Linked DNA regions of Homo sapiens: region 2 is linked to region 1. The links are contacts of gene promoters, found by promoter capture Hi-C in human tissues and cell types (Jung and others, 2019). All regions are on one chromosome and are shown on one strand. Each heading gives the region's core, a stretch centred on a gene start or on the middle of the fragment in contact. The rest is flanking DNA. Distances are from core to core; before and after follow the strand shown. Region 1 holds the start of TRPV4 (transient receptor potential cation channel subfamily V member 4). Region 2 overlaps FAM222A (family with sequence similarity 222 member A).

Region 1 (5,191 bases), core at 2,692-5,191:
TCAAAAGATGAACTGAGTTAGTGGCAGGATCAGGACTGTGCCAACTGTAAAGTGAGGTGCACGTGTCTTGTTTTTATAACTGGGTACCCTGGGTATAAAGTCCCTGAGATCCTGACCTGTCTGGCTCACCAATCTCTCCCCAGCATCTGGCACTGGACCTGGCATACAGTAAGCACTTGGTAAATGCAGACCCTTGGCTGCTGCCCAGGAACCTTTCTTAGGGGAGGTAGCTGAGTCCACCTGGGGCAGTCCAGGAGCTACGTGGAGAGCAAGGCTGCGCCCCACATGTGGCTGCCACATGACTCACAGCCAATGCTGAGGGCCTTGAAAGTTTTTCCTTCCCTAAGAGGAAACATTATTTCTGGCTAGGCACAGTGGCTCATGCCTGTAATCCCAATGTTTTGAGAGGCCAGGTTATGAGGATCACTTGAGCACGGGAGTTTGAGACCAGCTTGGGCAGCATAGCGAGACCTCACCTGTACAAAAAATAAAATTTAAAAAGCCAGGCTTGGTGACACACACCTATAGTCCCAGCTATTCAGGAGGCTGAGGCAGGAGGATCGCTTGAACCTAGGAATTTGAGGCTGCAGTGAGCTATGAGCAGGCAACTGCACTACAGCCTGGGCTACAGAGCAATACCCTGTCTCTCTCTAAAAATAAAAAAAAAAAGATTAAAAATTAAACTTAAAAAGTATATTCATATTGTTGTGTGACCCTCGTTCATCTCCAGAACTCTTTGCATCTTGCAAAACTGAAACCCTACGCCCAACAAACAGCAACCTCCCATTCTCCTCTCCCCCAGCTCCATCAACCAGGACTTTTTTTTTTTTTGAGATGGAGTCGCTCTCTGTTGCCCAGGCTGGAGTGCAGTGGCACGATCTCTGCTCACTGCAACCTCCCTCTCCCAGGTTCAAGCAATTCTGTCTCAGCCTCCCAGGTAGCTGGGATTACAGGTGCCCACCACCATGCCCAACTAATTTTTGTATTTTTAGTGGAGACGGGGTTTCATCATGTTGGCCAGGCTGGTCTCGAACTCCTGACCTCAGTTGATCTGCCCACTTCAGCCTCCCAAAGTGCTGGGATTACAGGCATGAGCCACTTCGCCTGACCCATCAACCAGTATTTTTAAAGCACCTACTAAGTGCCAGGTGCTAGACCTGTGGTCATGAACACGTTCCCTTGCTTCATGGACACTGGTACCCATTTTTTAGGTGAGGAAACTGAGGCACAGAGAGAGAGGGAGGCTCTTGCCCACAGCTCCCACCACAGCTCCTTCTCCCATCAGCGGCAGGGCAGGATTTGAACCCCAGTGTCTGGTGCAGAGGCCAAGCTCCAGCTGCTTAGCCCAAGATGAGTCACTTCCCTACATGGGGGCCTCAGTTGCCCCATCTGTGAAATGGGGATCAGGAAAGAGCTGGGTTAGTGATGATGATGCTGAGCGCTCAGGCCCCTTCCCTCTGAGCTTAGAGAAGAGGAGGTCGCCATCCCTGGCCCCATCTCCCCCAGTTCCAGTCCCCAACATCAGCTGCCTTATGGCTGGAATCACCCTTGCCATTTTCTTTAAATTGAGACAGGCCTTTCTGCAGAAATGGGTCCCAGACTCACTCCTCCACTCTCAACCTGGCCCAGCCCCAGCCCCAGCCCTGAGGGCCCCCAGCAGATAGCTGTCTGTCAGGGAGGTGTGAGGGGCCCTGTGTTTACCTTCCTCTCCACTGCCAGACATCTGCCTGTTTACTCCGGACCCTCAGAGGGTTCTCTTTCCCACCCCAACCCCCACCATGGAGGGAGCAGCTTTTGGAGAGGCCATACTCCTCTCCAAGCCTCAGTTTCCCACTTGCAAAATGGGTAGAGCAAACCCTACCTCACAGCCTGTTCTCCCTCTCATCCCCTAGGCTTCTGTGCTCAGTGAGTTAATTATTAGGGTTTGTTTCTTTGTAAATGTTTCACGCTGGAGGTGAACACATCACTCCTATTCAGGGGTACACACACACACACACTCTCTCTCTCTCTCTTTCGCCTCCCCACCCAGCAATTCTAAAATTTCACTTTCCAGCTGTTGGACCTCAGGAGAGATGCTGCTATTTTCAAGCTGAGGAGGAAGGAGCTACCCCACAGTCCCTGAGTCAGCTCAATTTAGTGAAAACACTAATGATGAAAATGGCATGGCTCTGGGCCGGGCACGGCGGCTCACACCTGTAATCCCAGCACTTTGGGAGGCCAAAGTGGGTGGATCAACTGAGGTCAGGGGTTCAAGACCAGCCTGGCCAACATGGTGAAACCCTGTCTCTACTAAAAATACAAAAAATTAGCCTGGCGTGGTGGCGCATGCCTGTAATCCCAGCCCCCAGGAGGCTGAGGCAGGAGAATCGCTTGAACTCAGGAGGCAGAGGTTGCAGTGAGCTGAGATCACACCCCTGAACTCCAGCCTGGGCGACAGAGTAAGACTCTGTCTCAAAAAAAAAAAAAAAAGGGCTCTGCACAGCCTGGATGCTCCCAGCATCTTCACTGCGACTGTGAGGTGAGGACTTTTGTATGCCCCACTCTACAGGGGGATGTAGAGGCACTGAGGCACAAAGGTGAAGGGACTTGCATAGGGCTGCTGGGTTAGAGAGTCACAGAGCCAAGCTGTGGGCCTGCTAGGCTTTCCAACCACCCTGGAGGAAGTGAGCTGCCCATCCTGTGGAGGTATTCAAGTGGACTCAGTGCTGGGTAGAGGGTATGGCTATGTGTTGGGGCCCACCTTTGTTATCTGATAAAAGAAAATACATGGGTAGGTGTGGTGGCTCATGCCTATACTCTCAGTGCTTTGGGAGACTGAAGTGGGAGGATCACTTGAGGCCAGGAGTTGTAGACCGGCTGCCCTCCCCCACCCCCCCTTCTACAAAAAAATAAAAATTAGTGGGGTGTGGTGGCGCATGCCTGTACTCCCAGCTGCTCAGGAGGCTGAGGTGGGAGGATCTCTTGAGGCCAGGAGTTTGAGGCTGTAGTGAGCCGTGATCATGCCACTGCACTTCAACCTGGGTGACAAAGGGAGAACATGTATCAAAAATAATAATAATAATAAAAAAAATAAACAAAAACGCATTGAGCCAGGCACGGTGACTCAGACCTCTAATCCCAGCACTTTGGGAGGCCGAGGTGGGTAGATCGCTTGAGCCTGGAGTTTGAGACCAGCCTAGGCAACATAGTGAGACCCTATCTCTGCAAAAAATTTAAATAAAATTAGCCAAGCATGGTGGTAGGCGTCTGTGGTCTCAGTTACTAGGGAGGCTGATACGGGAGGATTGCTTGAACGCTGGTGGTTGAGGCTGCAGTGATTCCTGATCACGCCACCGCACTCCAGCCTGGGCAACAGAGTGAGACCCTGTCTCAAAAACAACAGCAACAAAACATTGATGGCCTACTCCGAGGCAGGCTTCGCAGTAAGCACTGGGTGAAGACCAAGGAGAGCAGCTCACATTTATTTACCCCTGAACCATCTCTATGGGCCATACCCGAGGGTAGGGACCTCCTTCAACGCCTCGGAGGAAATTGTCTGCTGAATGAATGAATGAGCAAACACGTGGAGGACTGGGCCGGGACGCCCATTTAGAGACTAGGACACAGTCCCAGGGCGGCCCGAAGTCACGGAGCAAGATCGAATCGGAGCCGATTCCAACTAGAGCCCTCTCCAAAGACCGTCTGCCGCTCTATCCGGGGATCGCGACACCCATTTTCCAGGCGAGGAAACTGAGGCCCTGGCCCTGCACCTCCCCCGCAGGGGAGGCCCTCGCTGGGCGGGCGGGGTGCGAGTAGGGGCCGCCCCTTCTAGGGCCTGCGCTCGGCGGGGTCCGCGAGCCGGCGGGTGGGCGGGGAGCTGGCCGGGGGCGGCGCGCGGCTGGAACCTGAGCCGGCGGAGGAGGGACCCGCGGGCGGACGGGCGCCGGGCGGGCCGGCCGGGATTCAGGAAGCGCGGATCTCCCGGCCGCCGGCGCCCAGCCGTCCCGGAGGTAAGTGGGGCCCGGGCCCGGGAGGGGCGGCTCAGCCGAGGTCCCCTCGCGCCCCTGGGGACATCTCCGTGGCCCGTCCGGCTCCGGGGGGTCCCGAGGCTCCAAAATGCGGGCCAGGGGCGCGGGAGACGGAAGGCACCAGGTTCCGCAGGCGCCAGCCTCTCAGCTAAGTGCCCTTGGGCCGGACACCGGCTCTTTGGGTCTCGGTTTTATCACCTGTGAAATGGGCACCAACGTGGGGCCTGGGGTAGCAGGTCTGGGGGGAGGGCGGTTCGGTTCCCTGAGACCCCAAGCCAGGGAACCAAAGGCCCGGAGCCTTGCAGCCCACCTTAGGAGACTTGGAAGAGGGATTTCGGGGGACCTAAGGTTTGCCCTTGGCCCCTGAGCATGTCGGAGGGAATTTGGAGTCTGGAGCTTCCAAAGGCTTCTTCTTGGTTACTGAGTCCCGGAGAGACGGCTGTTTCCTCCAAGAGGCATGAAAATCTTTAACCTCTAGTTCTGCCCTGGACTCTCAGGACGTCCCGGGGGCGGGTGGCTCCTGGGGGTGGGTAGCGGGGGTGGGGGTGGGGGAGAGAGAGACTCCCACACTCCCCGCTTGCCTGGAAACACCAACCACAGATGCATTCATCGAGCCACCCACTGCTCCAGCCTGCCCCAGCTGTTCCCTCTGTCTGTCCTCTCTGTTTTGCAGATGGGGAAACTGAGGCTTAGGTCGGGGATCTAGACAATTGGGATTTAAACCCAGGGACTATCCAGCCCCAAAGCCCTTCCCACCACACCAGGTGGCCTGTCCTGGGGCCAGCTCTGCACACAGGGCCTGGTGCCCCCGGGGTGCTTGGGAAGTGGCAGGGCAGAGGTGGGCCCTGTGGCTGTTCTGGCTCAGCTTCTAAAACAAGAGCCTCTGCTGGGGGCAGAGGGGCCGTGAACCCCTGAAATGTTAGGCAGATACCCTGTGGGAGCTTTGTTCTGGGATGCTAAGAACCGCTTGAGGATTTAAGCTTTGCCACTTTGGCTCCGGAGCAAGGGCAGAGGGTAAGTCGGGACTCCCCGGGCTCCTGAGGAGGGTGACGAGGTGGGCTTTTGGGGGAACAAGGGTAGAAAGGTCAGGCCTGGGTTATCTGCGGGGCTAAGAGCGGGCCTGTGTGGGGCCCGGGGTGTGCTCTGCAGTCCCCTGCTGTGTGACCTTGGCCTGGTCCCTTAGC
Region 2 (5,191 bases), core at 1,181-3,680, 110 kb after region 1:
GTCAGCCCCAGCCTCCTGGAGTTGCATTTCTTGGGTAGGAAGGGGACAGAAGGCGCCTCGTCCTTGGGGCCCCGTGACACGGCTCTTTCACATGTTTCCATGAACACTGTGCAATGCCCACTCCACACCAAGCCCTGTCTCACAGGCCATGCATAGTGTCAGCCAGGTAGCTGGAAAAGGCCAGGACCTGGTACTTGAACCATGGCATGGCACGTGCCAAGGCCCAGAGCTGTGAGAGATCTCAGTGGGTTCAGGAGCTGCCAGCAGTTTGCTGAGGCTGTCACAGCCTCTCTGCAGTCAGATCTCAACTTCTGGGTGGGTCCCCTGGAATTCTCTCATCTCTGCCCTATCTGGCCTTGCCAGGACCACCCTGCAGGAAGCCCCCGGGGATGGGTCCCAGCTCTGTGCTTGCTTCCAGCTAGAAAAACCTTGGCAATTGTTTCTTTTGTAGTTTGTGGGGTGGGGAGAAAAAAAAAGGGGATTTTTTTTTCTCTTTTGCATATGGTGGCACAGATGGGCCCATGATCCGTAAAAACTGTTTGCAATTAAACTCCCACTTTGCATGGCTGGATTTGTCAGTTGTCTGAACCGGGAGTGGGGAGCTCCACACTGACAGGAAGATGGGACGTGGGACAGGGCGGGACAAGATTCAGGAGGAGGGGCGGAGGCCCAGGAACCTGCTCTGGGCTTGGGGCCCAGGCCGATGCGATGCGGCATCACAGCAGCCCTGCCAGCTCCCTCTCCGGGCATCCCCCAGCCTTCGCCAGGAGTGGGAGCACAGCCAGGCAGCTGGGGTGGGGCTTGGCAGGGCTTCCCTGCCCAGTAGGGACTTGGCCAGTGCTGGGTGCCCTGACTGCGGGTCTAATGATGGAGAGAAAGGAGCTAATCACCAGTCTGGCCCTGCCAGGGACTGGGCCCGGGACCCAGGACAGGAGAAGGGTGGCTGGGTGGGGCGAACCATAATGGGGGTTGGGTGGGCAAAGTGCAATGGCAGGTTCAAGACTGAGGTGCCAGAACCTCCGGCCTAGTTGGCAGAAAGAATCTACAGTGGTGCCAAGAAGGGCTGCCAAGGGCCAAAACTGGCTCCTTCCTCATCCCCAGGGAAACTGGCCTGGCCTCCTTATGTCCCTTTGAACGCAGGTAGGGAAATCAAGGCAAATACTAAGAATATCTCAAGGGCCTGCGCTTCTGCTGCCCACATTTGGGAACCTTTTCAGAGGGCTTCCAGAATAGAGGCTAGTGGCCTGCACCCCTCCCATCCACCCCGGGCTCAAAATGCCAGCTTGCCACCCCTGCTGCTACCCTGGGATGCTTGCATGTTTGGGTTAACAAATGCATCATTTGGCTTTGGGAAATCCTGAGATCGCTAATAATTGTTCCCTGATGAAAAGAAATAAGGCCCTGATACCCCCTCCCCCCCCCACCCGCTCCCTCCAAGCTGGGAAAGAAAAGTCATAAAAATAGCTTGTTATCTCACCTATTGAGGCTCCGACTGGATGTTACTGCTAATTGGGTATAACATCCTTGTCTTGTTCTCTCAGAAGCTAAATCAAGAAAGCGCCACTGCTGTGAACTAATTATATCTCCGGCCTGCAGCCTGCAGCTTGTCTCTCCCTTTATTGAGTTAAAAAATGGTCACGAACCTTCATCTTTCATCCCCCCAAGCGCTGGGCCCACACTGCCCGCCAGGTGTGGCTCGAAAGGTGCAGACAGCCCAGCAGGAAGGTCTAGGAGGGGTCCTGGGGACAGGCAGCAGGGTAGGGGAGTGGTGAAGGGGAAGCCCTGTCCCAGGTACCTGCCTGGCCCCTTCTCCTGCCCGTCACTGCCAGGCCTGGTGTTCAACTTTGCCTGGAGAGGAGGACTCTGGTCTCTCCCCTCCTTGCAGCTGGGCCCCTGGGGAGGTCAGGAGCATTTTAGTCCGGGGAGTCTTCATTCATTTATTCATTCAATCAATACTTCTTGGATGTCTACCTACTGTGCACTAGGCACTGTTCTAGGCCAAAGCTTCTAGTAGACTGAAGGTAGCCCCCCAAGCAACCTCACCCAGGATTCACAGAGCTGTTGAATAAGTACTCTTAGACGGGACCTCACTGTTACTCTGCTGAAAGAGCTGCCAGAGCTCCCTACTATGGGAAAGCAAAGTCCAAACATCCAGGCCAGCCCTGGCTCCTTCCACAGTCCTCTCTCTCCACATTCTAGCCACATCTGGTTACACACTGCTCCCTTAGTAAACACTCTCACCTGCCTGCCTCTGAGCTGCCTCTCATGCTGTTCCCTCCACCCGGACGTTCACCCTTCCTGGCTCTGCCCGTCAGAAGCCCACCAGCCTTTAAAGCCTCCAAAAAAATGACATCTTTTCTGGGAGGGCTCCCCTGTCTGCCTGCCACCTACAGCCCTGTCCCAGGCTGTGAACTTTCAGACTTGGGTCTGAATGCCAGCTCGGCCACCCAACAAGTGCGTGACCCTACTCTGCTTAGCTGAGCCAAGCCTCAGTTCCCTCATCTCTAAAATGGGTTAAGAATTCTCCCTGGAGGTGCAGGGAGGCTTGCTGCAGGTGTTCTGCAGAATGATGAACGAGAGAGTGCCCAGGAAGGACCTAGCTCTCAGGAAGAACTAAATACATGCTGTTATCATCATCCAGACTGTCAGTGCTCGGAATCTGCATGGATGAACACAAGTGGGAGTTAGAAGAGGGTAACAGACCCTCCCACCTAAAAGGCTTTTGTGGCTTAAGAACAACCTGGATACACAGAGATCCCCTAGAATCCCTCGCTGTCCCCCCTGGTCCTCTGAGCCACATGGAGACGGGCCAGAGGCACCCTGAGCTCATTGAGGCCAGGCAGGCAACTGGTTTCAGCTCACAGGCCCTGCTGATTGATTGGCGCTGCCTGCCCAGAGCCCTGGAAGGAACCCAAGGTCAGGGGAAGAACTCAGCAGGGAAAGAGGGCAGCAATTGATTGGCAATGTCTGCCAAGGGCACAGCGGCATAAGGCAAGCCAGGCCTGCCACAGATTTGCCATCCTTGACATTTATGAAGGACGCGGCTGAGTCTGGGTTGGGAGGGGTGGGGGAAGGTGACCTGCTGAAGGTCGTGAAGCTCATAAAGGAGACAGCTGGCCCAGAACAGCGTCCCCTCGGCCCCTGCCCGAGGATCCTACCATGCCCAGTACCCTTACAGGCAGTGAAGAGGCAAAAGCTTGTGTGGATAATGAAGGGGGTTCTGTGGGCCTGCCATGTGGCCCAGGGCTGCTGCTTCACATCATCAGGCTAAGTTTCTTCATTCACATGACAGGGATAAAAACACCCTTCAGAGAGGGATATGAGGATTAAATGAGAGAACAAAATGCCAAAGTAGGAAACTCAGTCTGGCACACAGCAGATACCAGTGTCCTGTGATTCTCATAATAGGCAAAAGTATTCAATTACAAGTGCCACCTCCTCCAGGGAGCCCTCCCTGGCTACTCCAGCCAGAAGTAATTGTTTCCACCTCTGATTTCCTTTGAGAGACTGGTGGTGGCCCAGGGCAGGGCCCACGTCTGGCTTGTTCACTGCTGTGCCCCCCTGCCCCTGGCACAGTGCCCACATACTGTGAATTCCTCCATTGTGGCAATTAACCCACATGCACTTGTTGGGTGGCTGAGGGGGTGCACTCGAGGCCTCTCCCTCGGTAGGTACACACCACCTTTCAAGGCAACTGGGGCTTGTTCATCTTCATGTCCCCAGCATCTGGCAGGGAGCCTGGCCTGGAGCAGGGAAGCTCTCTGAATGAACGGATGGATAAAGAGCAAAAATAGCAGTTCCTGTTTACTGCCCATTGGCTATCGGTTACTGCCAAACCTCACAGCTGCCCTCTAAGGTGGTCCCTTGGCCCATCACAGATGAAGAGACGGAGATCTGCAGATGCCGAGGGGCAGGGCCAAGCCCTGCATTCAGGCCTGGGGATTTCATGCCAGGAGGCCCTGCCACCTCTGCCTCCCCCAGTGCCAAGCTCAGGCCTGGACTCTGTGAGGCAGCTGCCCGTGCCCTGGCAGCGAATCCTGGAGCAGACAGCTGGTGGCTGGACCTCCCTCCTCCTCCAAGGGAGGCCCCCCTCCCCACAGACTCTGGGTCATTAAGTTCTGCGTCATTAAGTCCCCATCCCCGGGAGCCTGTTCACAGCTAGTCTCGGCCTCACCCCCTGACCTCCCAGGCCTTTGTCCCCTGTGCCCTCTGCACAATAGCAGGGGCCCCCAGGGCCCCAAACAGCTGCTGCGGCTGGGATGCTGGCTTGCTGTGGGGCCAGGACTGGCCCAGGCCTGTATTCAAGCCCAGCCCACCCAGCTCTGAGGGGCTCAGCTAAGCCCCCTGCAAGCACTATGCACATGCAAGCTCACCCCACCCACAAGCCCATGAGAAAGCTGTTGAGACTCTCCTGAACAAGAGGAAACTGAGGCACAGAGGGGTAAAATAATTTCTCTGAGGACACAGCCAGTGAGAGTGCAGGTGCTCTCTCTCACCGGGTTTCAGCCCAGGTCTGCGACTCCCAAGCTCTCTGTTGGCCTCTAAGGCACTGGGATCTTAGCTGGCCCCTGCCTCTCAGATGCTTTCACTGGCTTCCCTCTTCCTCAGGGCCTCACAGCACCCTTAGCTCAGCACCCGATGCCCCCTGCACACCCTCCTAATCTCCCTTTCACCTCCACCATCTTATAAGCTCCCCCTGCCCTTCCTGGTCATGCTCCCGGGTCTCCAAACTCCCTCTGCCAGAGACACCCCCATTTACTCCATGCTGGGGAGAGCCACTCAGTCCTCAGGGCACAGAGCACAGCCCGCTTTGTCAGGAAGCCCTCCAGGACCAGCTGCAGGTTTTCCCTCCTCCAGCCCTGCTCCAGCCCTGTCTAGAATTCCAGTTAACTGCAGACTCATCTTACTCCCTCTAGAGGCTGTGGGCCATCTGATTTCTTATCACTTGACCACTGGGACACGGGCGACAGGGTGTCCTTGCTCAGTCTTTACCTAAAGCCTGGTTTTACCGAATGGAACCACGAGTGGGTGGGAAGAGGAGTGGGAAGCTGGAACCCCGCCTCTGCCTTCCCATCTCTGGCTGCCAATGAACCTCATACTTCTGCCACTCCCTGGCTGTGTGACCTCGGGCAGCAAAGTATAATACCTTCTCTGGGCCCCTGCTTCTCAGCAAAATGGGGGTGGTACCAGC

The links. The method cuts DNA at HindIII sites, captures the fragments that hold promoters and counts their contacts. A contact is called where the count stands out against the background at its distance.
Region 2: a fragment that was not itself captured here is called in contact with the fragment with the promoter of TRPV4 in region 1 in 2 of the 25 tissues and cell types used here (IMR-90 fibroblasts and adrenal gland).

What each region holds. Positions count from the first base shown.
Region 1 is chr12:109,832,148-109,837,338 of GRCh38, reverse strand. TRPV4 (transient receptor potential cation channel subfamily V member 4) reads left to right here and starts at 3,941. Exons shown (of 16, transcript NM_021625.5): 1 at 3,941-3,989. MIR4497 (microRNA 4497) reads right to left here and starts at 3,991; the gene lies at 3,903-3,991. The HindIII fragment of the contact is 21,611 bases long and covers 1-5,191 here.
Region 2 is chr12:109,719,234-109,724,424 of GRCh38, reverse strand. The region is part of intron 1 of FAM222A (family with sequence similarity 222 member A); the gene reads right to left. Among named protein-coding and RNA genes, the nearest start is that of FAM222A, 8.0 kb to the right of the region's middle. The HindIII fragment of the contact is 6,122 bases long and covers 1-5,191 here.